Linked DNA regions of Homo sapiens: all the other regions are linked to region 4. Evidence: promoter capture Hi-C in human tissues and cell types (Jung and others, 2019). All regions are on one chromosome and are shown on one strand. Each heading gives the region's core, a stretch centred on a gene start or on the middle of the fragment in contact. The rest is flanking DNA. Distances are from core to core; before and after follow the strand shown.

Region 1 (2,700 bases), core at 13-2,512, 470 kb after region 4:
TTGCTAGGTCATATGTTAATTCTATGTTTAATGTTTTAAGGAAATGCCAAACTGTTTCCCAAAATGGCTCACAAGTCACAGATTTTAATTCTTCTTTGTCTTCTTATTACTCCTGCAAGTGAGAGGACAAAAAGGAAGAATGCAAATATGACTCTGAATTTGCTGGTGTAGATGGTTTCATTGTGGTATAGTTCATTAACTCAGTAACATAGGAGGAAGAACTGGTTTCAAAAATTGAGTGGGATGTTTGGTTTTGGAAGGCATGAAGTCATAGTTGGGTTCTTGAGGAGCCTCAGGTAGGATTTTTTCTTTTTCTTTCCTTTTCTTCTTTGAGATGAAGTCTTGCTCTGTCACCGAGGCTGCAGTGCAATGGCAAGATCTTGGCTCACTGCAACCTCTACCTTCTGGGTTCAAGTGATTCTCCTGCCTCGGCCTTTAGAATAGCTGGCAGTACAGACACGTGCCGCCATGCCCAGTTAATTTTTGTATTTTTAGTAGAGATGGGGTTTCACCATGTTGGCGACTGACATTGAACTTTTGACCTCAAGTGATCTGCCTGCCTCGGCCTCTGAAAGTGCTGGGATTACAAGAGTGAACCACCACGTCTGGCCTAGGTAGAGGTTTTTAGGAGTTAGTTGAACATTCAGGATTGGAGTTCAGGAAAAAAATCTAATCTGGAAATTGGATTATGAGGATAATCCAATCATTATCTGATATTTCTTTCTTAAATCACATTTGCTTTTCCAAATTCCTTCCTCTGTCTCCCCACACCTCTATTTATATTCTTCCTTTTTGAAGTCCATTCTTCAAGTTTCTCCAGCAATATAGTTTCTTCTTGGCTCATTAATAAATTTATCATATTCTTTTTTTAAATAACTGAGTACTGGTACAGTGATTTGTAGCTTTTGGTAGGAAAAATCTGGACGATAGGATAATAAACCAGGAAGATTCTGTGGCATGTGGGAAGTCGGGAGACACCAGTAGCACCCGATTTCTTCTGGTAGAATGAGCTCATTACCTCCTTTAAAAATTTGATAGCTTTTTGTTTGTTTGTTTAAAATTATTAAGACTGACAACATGATAGATGCTTGAAAACTATCCCCCATTTCAGCCTTATGATAGCTATGAGATGTCGGTATTTTTATGCATCTTACAGCAGGGATTCAGGTCTTTTTTTTGTCCCCTCATATATCCCAAGTGACTATAACAATGCCTGGCACATAGCAAGTGCTAAAAGAAGTTTTGTTGGAAGAGACACGGCTCCAAGAGGTAAACTTACTTGTTTGCCTCAAACTCCTAGGTGGTAGAGAAGAAAGCCAGCACCAGGTCATGTTAATTTTAAACTCTGGGCTGGGCGCAGTGGCTCACTCCTGTAATCCCAGCACTTTGGGGGGCCAAGGTGGGCGGATCACGAGGTCAGGAAATCGAGACCATCCTGGCTAACACGGTGAAACCCCGTCTCTACTAAAAATACAAAAATTAGCCGGGCGTGATGGCAAGCGCCTGTAGTCCCAGCTACTTGGGAGGCTGAGGCAGGAGAATGGCGTGAACCCTGGAGGCGGAGCTTGCAGTGAGCCGAGATGGCGCCACTGCTCTCTAGCCTGGGAGACAGAGCAAGACTCTGTCTCAAAAAAAAAAAAAAAAAAAAAAAAAAATTTCAAACTCTGTGCGTGTTACACGATTCCACATTACCTCCAGCTTCCTTATCACTCGAATGAGGGGAATATACAAGATCAGAGTTTCTGATGTTCAGTCTGCACAACTTGATTCATCTCTGGGTTCATCAAGGCTTTGCTCCAATAAGTCGAGGAATGCTGAGTGATTCAAAACTGATCAGTTTCTTTACTTTAGGGCTGCTCAAAGTCTTTCATATGTTAAGGTCCATCGTGAATCACTGAGGGGAACAAGAAGTATGTTTACAGGTTTCTCCCATATCCTCTATCCTTGTTCCTTGTGCACGTGTGCGTGTGTGTGTGCATGCGTGCATGTGTACATGTAGTGTCTTTTAAATATCTCCAAGGAATGCAGTTTTAGAGTAGATGGTCTCAATTTCCTGAGTTCGTTTTTGATTGATTTTCTTCTAGTCCTATAGTTTGTTGATTTGCATTGTGGCAAGAGAACAAATTAAGGTGAAATCCTATTACAGCAAATATGGTTGGAAAAATATTACTATAACAATAATATTTTAAAGACCTGGCCATAAGCCTAGAGTAATAGAGGCTTGCTGATTTCTCTAGAGTAGAAATCACTGCTCCAAATGAGTACAATAAATGCTTTTCTTCTGCTTCATTTTTACAATAGAGTGAAAAAAAATTCCCTAGAACCTTAGTATTTGTTGTTTACCCTTCCAACAAATATTCATTGACTGCCTCCCAAGCACTGCAGTTCCCCATGGGGAATACCAAGGCATTCCTGGCCGGGGATTCCAGATCTTCAGGTATTCACAATTTGTTGAGGTAGTGAGAAAAATGTAGAATCACAGAGTCAGTGGCAGAGCAAGTAATAAATTCTCCTCTGTACCAGACACACTGTACAATGTAAGAAATTATTGAAGACAACAAATGAAAAGCTACAACAAGATTGTTTAGACTTCAAGGGGAAATAGACGAGGTTATAAGCTTTCTGAGGGCAGCACTGATGTGCTGTGTCATGTCTGAGCTTGGCCTGGAGTCTGCAAAGAGTGGTTTGGAGGGACACAGC
Region 2 (2,700 bases), core at 110-2,609, 300 kb after region 4:
GCATGTGTGTGTGTATGTGTTCATTGGAATGTGTGGGGGTTTCTGGGACAACTTTTCTCTACTTTTATTTTTATCTGCCTTTCGTTTAGTCTCTGCCTTTGTCCCACTTTGATTTTAATTTTGGTCTCAGGCTTTTGTCATGGGAGTCTTTGCTTTATTGGTTCCTTTTCATCCTTTAGGTCTCAGTTCAAATGTTTCCTCTTTAGAGAGAAATTTTCTTTTCCCACTGATTAATAAACAAGTTTCTCCTGTTTCTATCATTCCATTTACTCTCTGCATTGCAGTTACAGCATTCTGTAATTATTCAGTTTGTTTATCTATTTACTTGTCTCCATCTCTGTATATAAAATCCACAGGAAGAAGAACCTTGTTGGTCTTATTCACTTTCTTTTATCTTGTGCCTTCCATAGGGCCTGACACATAGTAAATGCTTAGAAAATATGTACCAAATTAATTAATTGATTGATTCACTAAGGGAAGAAGGGACAAGAATACTAATGAGACTATGCAGAATTGATATGGAATTGCACGTATATGTATGGCTGGGCTAAGATTTGCAAGGGCAGAGGGGAGATTTAGGGCCAAATCAAGCAGGCCTTGTATACTCTGCCATGACCAGGATTGGGCTTTATTCTGGAGATAATGTGAATCTATGGAAGGACTTACATAAGAAAAGATGAAGTCAGTTTTATGTTTCAAAATGATCAATGTGTCTGGGGTGGTGAATGGATTAGAACAGAATAAGACATGCTGCAAAGGGACCTGTTTGGACACTGTTGAAGTTATCTGGGTAACAGATGATAAAACCCCTACTTAAGGCCAACAGCAGTAGAAGCAAAAAATATTTGAAAAACTTGAGATAGGAAAAACAAGTCTTGATTGAAAGTGGGCAATGAAGAAATTGGAATAAAAAAGAGTATAAAGAGCAGCCAGAAGCTTAAGTGGGTCAAACAGAGCAAAGAAACACTGACATAAAATAAGTCTGGTTTGGGTATCAGTGAAAGTGGTAGAATAAAGGCCTCTGAAAGTCCTCTCCTCCATAAAAGCAATAAGAACAAGGGCAACAATTTTCAGAATTAACTTTTTTAAAAAACTGTAGACATTAATAAAAGATTTGGGGAAAATTCAGGGAACATTTAAGAAAAGCAGCTGAATTTTGGTATAAAAACCTGATATGAACAGTGCAGTATTAATTTTTCCTATTCTCATCCCTTCATTTCCAGCTCCATGGTAACCTTGAAAACCAACAGACTATGACCACAGTAAAAACTCGAGACTTGGTTGCCACTAGAGGGGGCAAAAGAGGGTTGGAACTCTTTCAAAATCCTATTTCTGGAGAATTTGTTATTTTTTTTGACCTGCCTGGTGGTTCCCTGGAAGACCCCATTCTCAAAGTAGTCTTATTTAACTGATTCAGAGATCATCTAGTATGAATAGCTTTTTTCTTGGGGTCATTTATTGAAAACAATTAAGAGCATTTGTTTAGATTATGGCTGCCTGTGGTAGTGAATAATAGTTGGGGCAAATAATAGCTTAACAGGAAATGCTTGAAATTGATGTCCATAAAGGGCTCTGAAGAACTTTGACACATTCCTGAGAATCTAGAAGGCCATGTGCATGCTGTGGTATGTATGAACGTTCAGGGAATGCTTGAGAAGGCTCTAAGCTCTCACCAGTGTCTCACTTTGAGGCTTCACTTAGGGGAAACTGAAAATTAAAGCAGAGTAGTTAACTGTCTAGCTAAATGTTGAAGGCATGTTCAATATGCACGTAGAGCCATTTGTCAAAGACTTGGGGGCTTATTGATTCCAGGCACTTAAGGACATCTCTGTCCAATTGACAACTATGTTAACAAAGCAGAGACTTCTGTGTTGATACATGTAAAAGAATGCAGATTTTACAGCACTAGTTCAAAAAATTACTAAACAAACAACAGCAATAACAGTAAAAACAACAAACCCTGGTTGGGGGCAGGGGGTAGAATCCAGAATTGCCATATTACCTAAAATGTTCAGTTTTGACAGAAATTATGAGATATGCACAGAAACGAGAAAGTATGACTCTTACATAGGAAAAAGCAGTCACTAGAAACTGTCTTTGAGGAAGCTCAAATGTTGGACTTGCTAGATGAAGACTTTAAATCAGCTATTTAAAGTATATTCAAAGAGCTAAAGGAAAACATGTCTAAAGAAATAAAGGAGAGCTGAAGAATGAGTTTTCAACCAATTGAAAATATCAGTAAAGATAAAAATGATAAAAAGCAGCCAAACCAAAAACATGGAGTTGAAAAGTGCAATAACTGAAATAAAAAGTCACCGTGGGGGCACTTGAACAGGTGGGAGAAAGAATATACCAAGTTGAATGCAAGTAATTGAAATTATCTGGTCTGAGAAACAGAAAGGGAACACAGCAACAAAAAATGAAAGGAGCTGGATAGACCTGTGGCATACCATCAAGCATACCAATATACACATAATAGGAGTCTTCAAAGAGGAGGATGGGGAGAGAGAGGGGGAGAGAGGGAGGAAGAAGAAGAAGAAGGAGGAGGAGGAGGAGAGGGAGAAGAAGGAGGAGGAGAGGGAGGAGGAGGAGGAGAAGAAGAAGAAGAATGAGAAGTAGAAGGAGAAAGAAGATGGAGAAGAGGGAGAAGAAGAAGAAAGAAGAAAAAGAAGAAGAAGAAAAAAGAAGAAAAAGAAGAAG
Region 3 (2,700 bases), core at 193-2,692, 420 kb after region 4:
CTCATGATCCGCCCTCCTTGGCTTCCCAAAGTGCTGGGATTACAGGTGTGAGCCACCATGCCCGGCCAATCAGAGTTTTTTAAAGGGTGATGTAACAGACACCTCCTGTGCCTGCCTGGCATTATCTCAAGTCCCCTTTCTGTTCCCCCTTAATTAAGCTGCAGCTTCTCTGCCTGCTGCCTGAGGTACCTGGAGGGCACCACTCAGACATTCTGATGAGGGCACGTGCAAACCTGGATGTGCAAGGGGATTAATTTCTAGCATCTCACAGGGAAACTCTCCACCGATGGAGGGTGAAAGTTGGTGGATAACAGCCCCCTCTTCTGTCCCTTGGGTCACAACTCTGAGGTGCTTTCTACACAGCTGCTCAGAGGGGACCTAGCAGAGTCTACCCAGGTGCTTTTATCTCTGTTGCTCTCCTTACAGCCCCACTAGCCAGGCACATTTCTTGTGATCACTTATCCAAATAAACTGCCTCCAAGGAAGCCCTTGTTTCAGGTTCTGCTTTCTGGAGGACTTGTGCCAAGTCAGCTCCATTTCTTATCTATGAAGTGGAAGCAATGATTACACTTCGCTCGTAGGACAAAGCACTGTTTGTTTAGGTAAATTTAGAACAGTGCCAGGCTCATAGTAAGCCTTCATTAAATATTAGTTATCATGATGAGAATCCATTATATTTGTATATGTGTTGTTGTTTGTGGAGCCTGTCCATACACATTATTTTATTTTAGCCTCATATTAACCCTGTGAAATAGATAATAATAATTATCCCTATTTTGCAGACAATGAAACTGAAAACCAGCTTAGGGAAATGACTTGGTCAAGGTTATGTGATTGAGAAGCGGAACAGCCAGGTCTGGTAGATGCCTCAAACCATAGAACACATGAGCTGAAGTGGAGCTGATGTTTTCACTGAATACACGATGACACAGGCACAGAGAGGTCAACTGATTTCTCAGGGTCACACAGCTCTTCAGCAAATATTCCGAGGCTAAGATCCTAGACTTTCAGGCTTCTAGTACAGAGCTTTGTTAGGGTGGGAAATTAATAGAGATAGAGCATGCTGTCTGGGTTTCAGTTGAATGCACAGATCAGAGATAATAATTCTGTTCTCCCATCCTCCTGCCTCAGTTTACATTATTTTTTCCTTGTTATTCTTGCTAAGCAGTGTATTCAAACTTTTATAAAAGGCAAAGAAATACCTGCTTTTGAAAGAGCAGTTTCCAATGACTCATTTAGGAGGAAATCTGCTTATGAACCAGGATATTGGAAGATTGAATAATTTGAACGATGTTTGTTTTTCTGACCTGGATTTAGCTCTTGTGAAGTTTTCTGCATCAATAGCTCAGGAGATTGAAATATTATTTTCTTTCCTTTATATTCCCCAGTGAAGGTCGCAGGGACTGACCTTCCATCACCCTGAGATGCCACAGCATGACTTGAAGGTGACCCAGACTGACCACATCTCGGGGTTTTTTGAGCCATTCAGTTTCCATATTCGTTTAGTCACTGGGCTTTTTATGTGTGATTTTTGGTGACCATGAAATTGAGAGATGAAGAGGCTTGCCTGCTGCCAAAGACTGTGTGGCGAAGGCTCCGTGTGAGTTCCCCTCGGTTTGCCAGCGCACTTTATTCCTAACTTTGGGCTTTCCTCCCTCTCTTGTCCTCAGCCTTCCCAAGCAGCACCAGCAATGCTCAACAAGGCCTAATTGATTTGCAAGGTCCAAGAGTCATGGGTTTTAGCAATTAGGCAGAACAACTGTCCCCTCATGTGACCAGAAGTATGTGTTAAAGTTGTTTTTTTTTGAAATCACTCTTTTATTTTTAAATACAGAAATAAGACAGAAAGAGTTAATAGTATGACCTCCACAAATCATTTCTTAATTTTTATAATGTAACAGCAAGTAAGCTTTACGTGAGGCTTACATGGAGCAGGCCCTCTTCTAAGCACTTTGTATATAACATATCATTTAGTCTTCACTACAACCCTACGAGGCAGTGTCTATCATCATCCTCAAAGTCTTCCTCATTATTGTTGTTGTTATTTAACAAAGAAATAAACCAATACACTAAAGCACATAAGGGTGCACTGACAAACCTAAGATCACACTCTAGTAAGTAAATGGTTGGGATTTGAACAGCCTGGCTCCAGAGCCCATGCTCTAAACCATTATCTAAAAAATTAGAAGGGAAAGGAATCATCACAGCCAACCCTCTTGTTCACTCATGTGGAAATTTACTCATGTAGCACAGACAGGGGAGTTAACGCTTCTAACATCACACAGCATGTTAATGGCTGCTTGATTCCAGTCTGAAGTTCTTTTGCCTTCTGCAGAGTGGACCTCTATCTGTGAAGTTTAGGGAGGAAACCTAATGCATTAGACACTGAGATTGAAGCAGCTATTAAATGACTTTTTATTCGAGGTAGGATAAGCAGCCTGCATAGAAAGGCAAGAAGGAGGTGGTGGCGCAAATGGGGAGTATGTGTGTGGGGGAAGGAGGATACTGAATTTAGAAATTGTGTTGCATTAGGCTCTGGCCATGTTCCAAATATTTTCATTCGTTATTATTATTTTTATGGGAAAAGGAACCTGCAACAGTTTAGGCTCGGCTATGTGCCTTCAGGCATTGGTTTGTCAAATTTGGATCCAATGCCAAGTCAGCACAGTGGGTGTTCATGGGTGGTGTGTTTATGTGTGT
Region 4 (2,700 bases), core at 61-2,560:
GCAAACAAACATATCTATTTATAATTTTATTCAACTCACAAGTAAGAGATATTTAAAAAAAACAAATTGAAAGTTTTTTTTTTCTTCCTGATGCAAAACTTAACAAACTCCAATTAAATTCAATATTGGTCTGCCAGGGAAACGACCATAAAATTTACAGAAATTCTCCCAAAGATGCCTTTCAATTCTTCTCCTGACTTTAGTTCTAACTATACCATTTTTTTATAATTCCTCTATAAAAATCGAATCAAATCAAAGACGACGAGGAAAGAAAAATATTTCTAGAGTGATCTTAATTAACTGATCATTTCAGCAAAGAGCATTAGCAATGAAGAAGCGGCGAAACTGTAGGGAGAAAAAAAAGGATGCATTTTGTTCTTCGTGTTTATAATCCTTCCTAGAGAACAGAAACTACGAGCATGATTTATGGAACTGCATTATCTTGGATTTTCTCCGCAGATTTGACTCAACTTAGTATCAGTGTTCTGTTAAAGCGCTGGAATAAGTGGATACATCTGCAGAGGTAAGAAACGTGGTTTGGGTCGGATGAGCCTCCTTGTTGCTGGAGGGTGCTTCGAGGACCAGGCTTAGGAGAGAAGGGGTTAAGTCAGACCCTGTCTTTAGCGGCGCAACGTGCCCAGTTTTGTCTGTTAAAGTCAACGTCGCCCAACTGGAGCCAGCCAATGGACGGCCGGGAGCGCCCGGGACAGCCCAGTGGAGGGGTGTGGCCTCAGGCTGTCACTCAGCAGTGAGGAATGACACCCGGGCGGGAGGGGGGTGGTACAGTGGAACGCAAGGGAAGGAAAGAGAAAAGAAACAGATAAAACCAGGGCAGGGGGTAAAAAAGTTCCCCGCGCCTCTCGGAATCCAGCGGCCGCGGCCGCGGCTACCGCCGCCGCCGCCGGGGGTGGGCTCCGGAAGAGCCTGCCCAGCAGGGAAGGGGAGGACGGGCCAGGAGCGAAATCCTGCAGGCGAGGAAGGGACAGACGCGCAAAGAAAAAGTGACTCGGGCTGTGCGCCCCGGCGGCGCTCGGGAGGGGACTGCTGCCACGGAGGGGCCCCCGCCAATCCTCCTTCACGTCCCCCGAGGGGGCAGACCCCAGCCCGCCCCTAAGGGCGAGAAGCGATGAGATAATCCAGCTGAGCTGCGAAAGGAGAGCGTCTGGCTCTGGATTCGGGGGGAGGGGGTCTCCGGGCGGGGTGGGCCTCTAAGGTGGGGGCGAGGGTCGGCGCTGATCCTGGGACGGAGTGGGGCGGGAGCTGCTGGGCCGCGCAGCAGTGGGCGGCGGCGGCCTCGCACACCCAGCTCACTCGCGCTGCGGCCGCCGGCGCTCTCTGTCCCGCTCGGAGCTGCTCGGCGCCCCAGCTGCCCGCCCCGCCGGCCGCTCCTGCCCGCGGCGCAGATGGCTGTGCGCGGCGCCAACACCTTGACGTCCTTCTCCATCCAGGCGATCCTCAACAAGAAAGAGGAGCGCGGCGGGCTGGCCGCGCCAGAGGGGCGCCCGGCGCCCGGGGGCACAGCGGCATCGGTGGCCGCGGCTCCCGCTGTCTGCTGTTGGCGGCTCTTTGGGGAGAGGGACGCGGGCGCGTTGGGGGGCGCCGAGGACTCTCTGCTGGCGTCTCCTGCCGGTACCAGAACAGCTGCGGGGCGGACTGCGGAGAGCCCGGAAGGCTGGGACTCGGACTCCGCGCTCAGCGAGGAGAACGAGAGCAGGCGGCGCTGCGCGGACGCGCGGGGGGCCAGCGGGGCCGGCCTTGCGGGGGGATCCTTGAGCCTCGGCCAGCCGGTCTGTGAGCTGGCCGCTTCCAAAGACCTAGAGGAGGAAGCCGCGGGCCGGAGCGACAGCGAGATGTCCGCCAGCGTCTCAGGTCTGCTGCGGCTTCGCGGGGATGGGGGCCGGGCTGAGGGGATGGACGCGGAGGGCAACCACGCCGAGTGGGGTGGTCGGCTTGAGCACCCTGCGCCCTGGGGCTCGGAGGCTGGCCAAATCCCGAAGTTCTGCGCTCTGGCGCGAGCTGCTCTATCACTTCGGGAACTGAGCCCGCGAGAGACCGGAGTAGCTCCTCAGAGCCCTACGTCCTGGGGTGAGGCCTGAGACATCCTGGGCCAATGTGCATTAGACTGGGTTGGGAGAACCGCTGCCCCTTGCGTTCGGGAGTTTTTGAGTTCGTCGCCAGTGCTTTCTGCCGTGTCTGTCCCCAAATCCCCAAAATCAGGGAAGCGGAAAAGTGAGGGGTTCAGAGACCTCAGGTAGCCAGTGACCTAGCTCTGGACCAGAGACCTGCCAGTTCAAGGTCCCAGGGCCGGGCCCCACAGTAGGTGGATAGGTGGTGAAGAACACCTCCGAGTGGGCCAGAGCTGAGAATCTGCAGAACTAGAGCTTTGGGGAAAGGGCTGGTTTGGCTTTCTCAGACCCCAGGTCTGGGAGAGCAGCCCTAGGCCGAAGATCCCGGATTGGGTCTTTAGTTCATCCTGGAGGCAGGAGAGAGGCCTCCTCAGCCGTGGCCTGTCCTGTCCTGTGGTCTGGAAGACCCGGGTGCCTGCCCTAGTTGGGTACAAGCTTCTGTAGGCCTCAAGCACAGGGGACCGCTGGACCTTTCTGCTGGAGTTCTTCGGAAGGGCGGGTACGAGACCGAGAAGCTGGTGTGGGATCAGGGTCCAAAAACTCGATGCAGGGGCAACCCTCCCTCTTTACTCTC
Region 5 (2,700 bases), core at 136-2,635, 340 kb after region 4:
AACTCTCCCAAGTCAGACATTGTGCAGAAACATTCTGATTTCTCTCTTTTCCTCATTTTGCTGAACTTCCTCTTCTCCTAGGCCTTAAGGTTCATCTGCCCCGGTTTGCCTGACTTTAGCATCTCCCTGACGCTACAATAGGGTGTTTTGGGTTTTGTGAAAGGTTGGTGTGGCAGAAAGAGTTTTGAAGCTAGGTAATTTTGGTCATAGTTATGGCTTAGTCATTTCCTAGCTCTGTAGTTTTGAACAAGTTACTTAATTCTCTAGTTTAAAAAAAATTCTGTTGAAGAGAATTAATAATCCTGGCTTTGCTGGGTTGCTGTGTAGATGAAATGAGATAGCACATGAAGAGGCCAACACAAGGTAGGCACTCAGTGAATGCCACTTTTTTGCTTCCTGTGACATTGAAGGAAGGGTTAGAGTAAGAGGAAGGGGATGGTCAGATTTGTGTTTAGAGCCATCACTCTGACTGTGCCATCGTGTGCATTGGAGGGGTGTATGAGTCACCTGTCGCTGTGTAACAAATTAATTTAAACCCTTCAGTGGTTTAAAACAACACACATGCATTAGCTGACAGTTTCTATGGATCAGGAATCCAGGAATGACTTAGCTAAGTCCTCAGAGTTTCTCATGAGGCAGCAATCAAAGGGAAAGCTCAAGTGGGGAAGAACCGAAAACCCACTTCCTGGCTTGTGTAGTGGTTGTTGGGATTCAATTCTTTGTAGATTATTGGATTTCAGACCTTAGTTCCCTTTTGGCTTTCAGCTGAAAGCCACTCTCAGTTTCTTGCCACGTGAGCCTCTCCATAGGGCAGCTCAGACACTGCAGTTTGTTTTGTCAAAACCAGCAAGGAGGAGAGTATATCAGTAAGACAAAAGTCAGAATCTCGTGTACCCTATTCATGGAAGCAGTACTCCATCACATTTGCTATACTCTATTGGTTAGAAGCAAGTCACTCAAGGAGTTGAGCTTACACAAGGAGAGGCGATGTCACCAGGAGGTGGGAATCATTGGGGGCCATCTGAGAGCCTGTCCATTACTGAGAGTGTAAGTGAGAGATAGAGATGCCAAAGTTAGAAGACTGTTGAGCCTCCCAGGTAAGCAATGGCAGTGAGAACAAGGATGGTGACAGTCCGAGTAGAGAGAGAGGCACATATTGGTCATTCATTTAGGAGACAGATGAGATGGGAATAATAAAGTGAGGATAAAGGTAGCTCCCAGGTTGGTGGCTTACTCATCTGTGGATGAAAGGTGATGAGAATCTCTAAAGGGGAATTAAGAAGGTTGAGCAGTGTTTGGGAGGGGCAAAACGATGAGTTTAGTTTTAGTCCTATGTTTTAGAGACTACAGCTGTCATGTTTGTGGCAGGGCTGGAAAGCCTGGCAGTCACTCCTGTTCTAATGAAATGTTATGTGGAATCCCAGAGTATAAAACAATAAAGACTGGAGTTGTTCTGGTTGACTCTAGGATGGAGATCTGTGGGGTAAAGCCAGCTGAGGCCCTCTTCACCTCTGCAGCAGTTCCTTTGGAACCACATTGGTTTTGGATTTAAATATACTGACTTGGGGTTTTAGCTACTCCATACATCCTTTTTAAATCAATATGGTATAAACTGTTTTAAAATAGTACAGAGGCAAGGGAGGGTACTGGAAATTAATAAGCTTTTGTGCAAACTGCAAGTGTTGAGAATCTGTGTGTACAGAACAGACTTTTCCCTTCTCTAGGTAGAGCCCTGTAGCAAATAAGGCTCTATGTATATGACTTGAGATTACTTTATCTCTCCATTTCTCCTGTGATCCTAAGGAGACCATAGTTTTCTGAAAAGGAGGTTTGGAATCATTGCTTCTACCTACTAGACTCTGTGATCTGCCTACCCAGTTTTATGGTTAGTTTCTGAATTCACCTTTCGCATACTCTTCAGCTCTTCATGTAGCTCTAATGGGAAGTAATTATTATCTTATTATTTCAGTGTATCGTCAACTATTGCTACATAACTAGCAACATAAACTCTCATACAAAAATCAGCATTTATTTAACTTGCATGTCTGCAGGTCGACTGAAGGTTGGCTGAGCTAGATTGGTTTGGCTACTTGCAGATAAGCTACAGGTTGAGGTAAGGTCTGTTGCATGTATCTTTCAACCTCCTTGGATCAGTAGGACAGCCACATTGTATTTTTTTTTCATTGTGATGTTAAAAGCATGTGAAAGCACATATTGCTTAAGCACATTTTTTTTTTTTGAGACAGAGTCTCGCTCTGTCCCCCAGGCTAGAGTGCAGTGGCACGATCTCTGCTCACTGTAAGCTCCACCTCCTGGGTTCACGCCATTCTCCTGCCTCAGCCTCCCAAGTAGCTGGGACTACAGATGCCCGCCACCACACCCAGCTAATTTTTTGTAATTTTTAGTGTTTTTTATGTGTTAGCCAGGATGGTCTCGATCTCCTGATCTCGTGATCCACCCACCTTGGCCTCCCAAAGTGCTGGGATTACAGGCGTGAGCCACCACGCCCAGCCCTTAAGCACATTTTTAAGCCCCTGCTTGTGTCACATCTGCTAACATCCTGTTTATCAATAGAAAGTCACAAGTCTAAGTCCAAAGTCAAGGTGTGAAAGTACAGTCAGCCCTTTGTATCAGCAGCTTCAACCAAATCCGAATAGAAAATATGGTATTTGAGGGATGTGAAGATACAACAGAAGGTTG
Region 6 (2,700 bases), core at 8-2,507, 370 kb after region 4:
ATGTGCCCAACATTTATCTTACTGACTTTTTTATTGAAGTGAGAGTCAGAAATGGAATCACCATGGCCAACTCTTGGAGTAATCATGACCCAGGTGGAGGAGTCACTCTTTCCCTCCTATAGACAATTCCCTTTTTTCTACCATCCAGGCATATCTGTTGTAGTACTTAAGGCAGTGGCACCCCAAAAAGCTATGTTCAAATCTTAGCCCCCAGTACCTGCAAATATGACCTTGTTTGAAAAAAGTGTCTTTGCAGATGTAATTAAGGATCTCAAGATATGATTATTCTGGATTAACTGAGTAGACTATAAATCCAGAGACGTGTCTTTATAAGAGACAGAAGAGGAGAAGGCATAGATACAGAGGAGAAGGCAAAGTGAAGATCCATGAGAAGATGGAAGCATGGACTGGATTTGTGCTTCCACAAGCTAAGGAACACCTGATAGCCCCAGAAGCAAGAAGAGACAAGGAAGAATCTCTCAGGATCTCCAGAAGGAACCAATCCTGCCAGCATCTCCATTTCAGACACCTGCTTTCAGAACTGTGAGGGAATAAGTTCCTGTTGTTTTCAGCCACTAAGTTATGGTAATTTGTTCTGGCTGCCACGGGAACTTAGGACACCTGTGCTCTCAGCAGCACTCTTACCACTACTGACTCTTGGGAAACCTGTTTTATTCATTTACTTTGCACTTACCATAGACTAGGCTCTGGGAGCATACATACCAATACAGGATGTCAGTGAATTTGAGGGGCTTATGCTCTGGAAATGACGGAAAAGGGAAATGGGCCTCTAATAGCCTTAATAAGCTGCATCAGACACCTGCTGATGCCTAAGCTAACCTGTGCCTTCACACCTCTGTGCCTTTCCTATGGAAGGATTTCTCAGCCTTGAAACTACTGATGTTTGGGAAAGATAAATTTTTTGTCTTGGGACTGTTCTGTGCATTGTAGGACACTTAGCAGCATCCGTGGCCTTTACTCACTAGGCACCAGTAGCAAGTCTATTCTTCTCTGTTGTAACCATGAAAAATGTATTCAGACCTTGCCAAATAGGTATCACCTGGGGGAGCAAGGCTGCTGTTGGTTGAGAACCACTGACCAATGGCATTCTCCGCTTGGAATGCCCTCACGTCATTGACCAGCTGGCAAACTCTTGAAGCCTTTCTTGATTCTCAAAGCTTGGTGCCTCTTCTCCTTCATGCCTGTGTCACTTTGTGAGCGTCAACTTGATTGGATTAAAGGATGCAAAGTATTGATCCTGGGTGTCTCTGTGAGGGTGTTGCCAAAGGAGATAAACATTTGAGTCAGTGGGCTGGGGAGGGCAGACCCACCCTTAATCTGATGAGCACCATTTAATCAGCTGCCAGCAAATATAAAGCACGCAGAAAAAATATGAAAAGGCCTAGCCTCCCAGCCTACATCTTTCTCCCATGCTGGATGCTTCCTGCCCTCGAACATTGGACTCCAAGTTCTTCAGTGGTGAGACTCGGACTGGTTCGCCTTGCTCCTCAAGCTTGCAGACAGCCTATTGTGGGACCTTGTGATCATGTAAGTTAATACTTAATACACTTCCATATATATATATATATATATATATCCTATTAGTTCTGTCTCTCTAGAGAATCCTAATACAGCAATGATCTTACTTTCTGCATCCTTCTGTCTGCACCTCTGCCTTCCTGCAGAACTTGAAGTTTTGCAAAAAGAGGTGTGTCTTTGCATCTCTGTTTTCCCCTACACTTAATATTTGTTGTAATAAGAATGAAAGACCTACCAGAGTCATACTGTGAGGCCCCAAAAGGAGACAGATGTTCAAGACCCAGCTACTGAGCACTTCATTACTAGAAAGGGCTTTGTCTCCAAACCTCAGTGTAGCCTCCTGAGGCACTGGACTGGGTCTTATGTGGACCACAAAGGCTTCTTTTGTGCCCCTGGCCTGAGGCCAGCAATTTGAGCAGCTTGGGCAGTTGGTGAGATCCCTTTTCCCTGAGCCAGCATTCCCTAAGCTTGTTCTGTGGCTCAGTAGCCCCTTGAGATGGTCCTTGAAAAAAAGGACGTTCATGGTTATAGACATTTAAAAAAACTTGCTTCCTAGATTTCCCTCTCAGAAATTTACACTGCATATTAGTAAAGAGTAAAGATTAAGATATTTGTTTCACATTACTTAGATCGATTTTCTAAACTTATTGGACCATGAAGCCTAAAGCACCTAAGAAATTTGTATGTCATAATATAAATCTTAGGAAATGTTAACTTATATCCACACCCTAATCTGATATGTCTAAGGCAGCAATCATACACTGACCCACATTGTTCTTAGATTTAAACTAACATCTAGAAATCAAGAGATTTTACATAAAAAATGTGTCCTGAGGCTTTAAATTCATTTCCCTTTTGGTATGAATTGGCTGGAACTGAATGGTGTCTGCTAAGTTGAAATGAGAAAAGTGTTCTCCAGGTCATCCAAATCCCCACCATTCCCTTTTATTTATCTCCTGACAGGTGCCTCTTATTACATACTATGCTCCCAGTTTTGCTGTAAGTAGAGGAGTACTGCTGTCTTGGCAATGGAGATAGAGGCTTGGAGGGTGTGTTTCAAGAAACAAGGAGAGCAGGCATTTGATTTTCTTATATCTGGGCAACCTCACTGTTTACACTGGGATTTGCATGCTTTCTGTAGAGAAAGACAAAAATGGGAAA
Region 7 (2,700 bases), core at 80-2,579, 440 kb after region 4:
CAGACTTTCTTATTTAGGTAAACAAAGTGTCTGGTCCAGGATGCATGGTGCCATAATTATCTGGCACCAGGATCCTCCTGTCTTACCTCTTCATGCTTAGAATGCCACCTTACTGTCCATGATGACAAGAACAGCTCCAGGCACTATTTCTTTATTCCAGACAACAGTAAAGAAAAAGGGAAAAAGAAAGGGCTACCTCTTCATGTTGGGGACACTTCCAAGAAGCTGCCCATATTGGGGATACTTTTATTCATTGGTTAATAGTTGGTCACATGGTCATAATTACTTGCAAGAACTGGTGGAAAATGCATCTATGTCAGCAATGCACTGAGTAACTCTCAGATTTTGTATTTATAAGGAAGAAAAAACGACGAGATCTTAGGAAATAAAGAGCAGTGTTTTTCACAGGGGCACTTATATAGAACCAGCTTGTGAGTCCATATTTTTTGTAATCTACAAAACACAGGGATGACAAAGAGGTGGTGGCAAGTGACCTGAGTGATGGACATCATGTCAATGGCAGAATAACAATCAGGTATTATTTGTTTCATGGTTACTAATCATATGCTGATATCCAGCCTGGAAGTGAATAAATACTATTAAAAATTAATCATTTTGGTAATAAGATATCTCAAACACAGAGAAGGCCGAAATCTGTCATCTGATACTACTCAATTTTTTTAGATATTGCCATATTTGCCTCAGATATGTCTTTTGTCTTCATAGGAAATGGAAGTACCATCACCTTATCTGTCCCTTTTCCTTTTCGAGTGTTGAATCTTTACCAGTGATGAGGGCTAGTCACACTGAAATAGAGTTTATCTCACTCTCAGCACCTTGTAGGTACCACATGGTGACTGGGAGTAGCTTGGCTAATAGGGGACCAAAAAACAATGTTTTATCAGGTGTGATTACTGATCGTAGAAGACATAATCCAGTTAATGAAGCTTAGTTCTATTAAAAATATCTTTTTCAGTTTAAAAAACTAGAATATACACATAGTTGAAGGATATGACCTATAATTTAAAGAAAAATAAACATCTTTTTATATATAATAAATATATATATATATTTATTAAGTAATCTGCTTGACTACATATTTTACTTTTCTAAATCACTGCATATTGGATTTAATATTTTCTGTTTAAAAATAGTAATAACAGATCTTACAGTTCTAAGTGGCACAGTTTCACCCACCTGACTTAGGTCAGATTCTGCAGGAAGTAGACACTGAGACTCTGTGGTTCGCATGCAGGTGCTTCCCTGGGGAGTGTGAGGGGGTAGGGGAGGAAGAATTGAGCAGAAGGGAAAATTAGGCTGAAATGCAGTTGCAAAAAAGTTCTCAGCTCGTCTCACAGGGGCTCTGGAGCTGGGAGGCTGAGATGAGTTGTTCCCTTAAGGCCACTGTACCCTGGCAGAACCCAGTGATGAGACGCTGGAAGAGAGCTGTCCATGGGGAGGAGGTGTACCCTTGGTGGAGGGGGCGCTCTTCCACAAAGGCTGCGGGATCTCAGAGTTAATTCTTCTCCAACCTGAGGGCAGCATCTAGCAGCACATGGCCCTCTCCACTTCTGAGTGCGGCGCATTCCCAGTTCATATGCTTTAACCAACAAGGCTCTTTTTATATTCTGTTGTACTGTTGGCCAATTCTAAGTCAGCCAACTAACTCCAAAAACATGGATCATTTCATTTTCATTGAGCACATGTCAGTGTAATATTGTTTAAACTTCTTTGAATAGAAACCTGATAAATTCCAATTAAAAATAGATAAAGGAGATGAACTATTTATGACTGATTTTAAAACATTTTTTATTATTTGGTGGAAAACACTATTGTTTCTGGAATTCCTGAAACATCTTTAAAGGGGCAAGATTTTGAGACTCTGGTGTATTAGAAAGAGCCTATGTTGGAATCAGATGTACCTGAATTTGAATTTAGACTTCCGCAGTTACTAGCTATGTGACTTAGGCAAGTCATACAACCTCTCTGTGCTTCAATTTTCCAAACATAAAGCATCACTTCTTCCAAGTTTCCTTTGGACTCTGAGACCCTCTGATTTATGAGGAAATGTAGGCAGTGCCACCAGTAGAGTGAATCTAAAGACCATAGTAGGCCTGACCAATTTCCTGGCCGTCTGTCAATAGAATTAACTTATCATCGAAATTTCCTTCACGAAGAAACTCTCACACTAGCGGTGCCACTGGGAGTCTGTAGAATGTGACTTCATGTCCGGGCTGCCTTATGGCCAAGCCTGTCTTAGGAGAGGCTTAATTCTTTGGCTCAGCCTGAAGTAGGGAGCAAGAGGGAGACCTGAGAGGAGCACGAACAGGTGCCAGCAGCAGGAGGTGCAAGTTCAGAACCTGGGTCAGGACCACATTGCAAGCACAGGGATTTGTGTAATCGAGCTGCCATTTGCCCAGCACGCACTCACTCTGGTTGCCTCTATAGAGTGGCGCCCACACTCCATTGATGTGGGGGCATAGGAGACTTTAATTAAGACAGAGGGGCTGCCCACAGGGTTGGAGTCTGTTCAGCTTCTGAGCTCAGTAAGCATGACTCATCCCCCCATGGAGTTGGGGGTTGTCACTTGGAGACTTGAGTCCTTGCCATCAGGTTTCCTCACACATACACTCACCTTTTTTTTCTTTCCGTTTCTAACTGAGAGAAGATATGCTTTATTTGAAGTGAGAATTCCCCTGT

Evidence for each region. The method cuts DNA at HindIII sites, captures the fragments that hold promoters and counts their contacts. A contact is called where the count stands out against the background at its distance.
Region 1: a fragment that was not itself captured here is called in contact with the fragment with the promoter of NKX3-2 in region 4 in 2 of the 25 tissues and cell types used here (H1 embryonic stem cells and lymphoblastoid cells).
Region 2: a fragment that was not itself captured here is called in contact with the fragment with the promoter of NKX3-2 in region 4 in 4 of the 25 tissues and cell types used here (H1 embryonic stem cells, aorta, heart right ventricle and 1 more).
Region 3: a fragment that was not itself captured here is called in contact with the fragment with the promoter of NKX3-2 in region 4 in 1 of the 25 tissues and cell types used here (lymphoblastoid cells).
Region 5: a fragment that was not itself captured here is called in contact with the fragment with the promoter of NKX3-2 in region 4 in 3 of the 25 tissues and cell types used here (H1 embryonic stem cells, lymphoblastoid cells and mesendoderm cells).
Region 6: a fragment that was not itself captured here is called in contact with the fragment with the promoter of NKX3-2 in region 4 in 1 of the 25 tissues and cell types used here (H1 embryonic stem cells).
Region 7: a contact is called between a fragment that was not itself captured here and the fragment with the promoter of NKX3-2 in region 4, in 1 of the 25 tissues and cell types used here (H1 embryonic stem cells).

The regions. Positions count from the first base shown.
Region 1 is chr4:13,071,007-13,073,706 of GRCh38, reverse strand. No RefSeq gene overlaps it. Among named protein-coding and RNA genes, the nearest start is that of RAB28, 410 kb to the left of the region's middle. The HindIII fragment of the contact is 7,483 bases long and covers 1-2,700 here.
Region 2 is chr4:13,247,691-13,250,390 of GRCh38, reverse strand. No RefSeq gene overlaps it. Among named protein-coding and RNA genes, the nearest start is that of RAB28, 240 kb to the left of the region's middle. The HindIII fragment of the contact is 9,084 bases long and covers 1-2,700 here.
Region 3 is chr4:13,125,378-13,128,077 of GRCh38, reverse strand. No RefSeq gene overlaps it. Among named protein-coding and RNA genes, the nearest start is that of RAB28, 360 kb to the left of the region's middle. The HindIII fragment of the contact is 3,040 bases long and covers 1-2,700 here.
Region 4 is chr4:13,543,118-13,545,817 of GRCh38, reverse strand. It overlaps NKX3-2 (NK3 homeobox 2), which reads left to right and starts at 1,310. Exons shown (of 2, transcript NM_001189.4): 1 at 1,310-1,869. The coding sequence starts at 1,404. The HindIII fragment of the contact is 14,287 bases long and covers 1-2,700 here.
Region 5 is chr4:13,199,312-13,202,011 of GRCh38, reverse strand. No RefSeq gene overlaps it. Among named protein-coding and RNA genes, the nearest start is that of RAB28, 280 kb to the left of the region's middle. The HindIII fragment of the contact is 7,958 bases long and covers 1-2,700 here.
Region 6 is chr4:13,178,044-13,180,743 of GRCh38, reverse strand. No RefSeq gene overlaps it. Among named protein-coding and RNA genes, the nearest start is that of RAB28, 300 kb to the left of the region's middle. The HindIII fragment of the contact is 3,956 bases long and covers 1-2,700 here.
Region 7 is chr4:13,102,359-13,105,058 of GRCh38, reverse strand. No RefSeq gene overlaps it. Among named protein-coding and RNA genes, the nearest start is that of RAB28, 380 kb to the left of the region's middle. The HindIII fragment of the contact is 3,623 bases long and covers 1-2,700 here.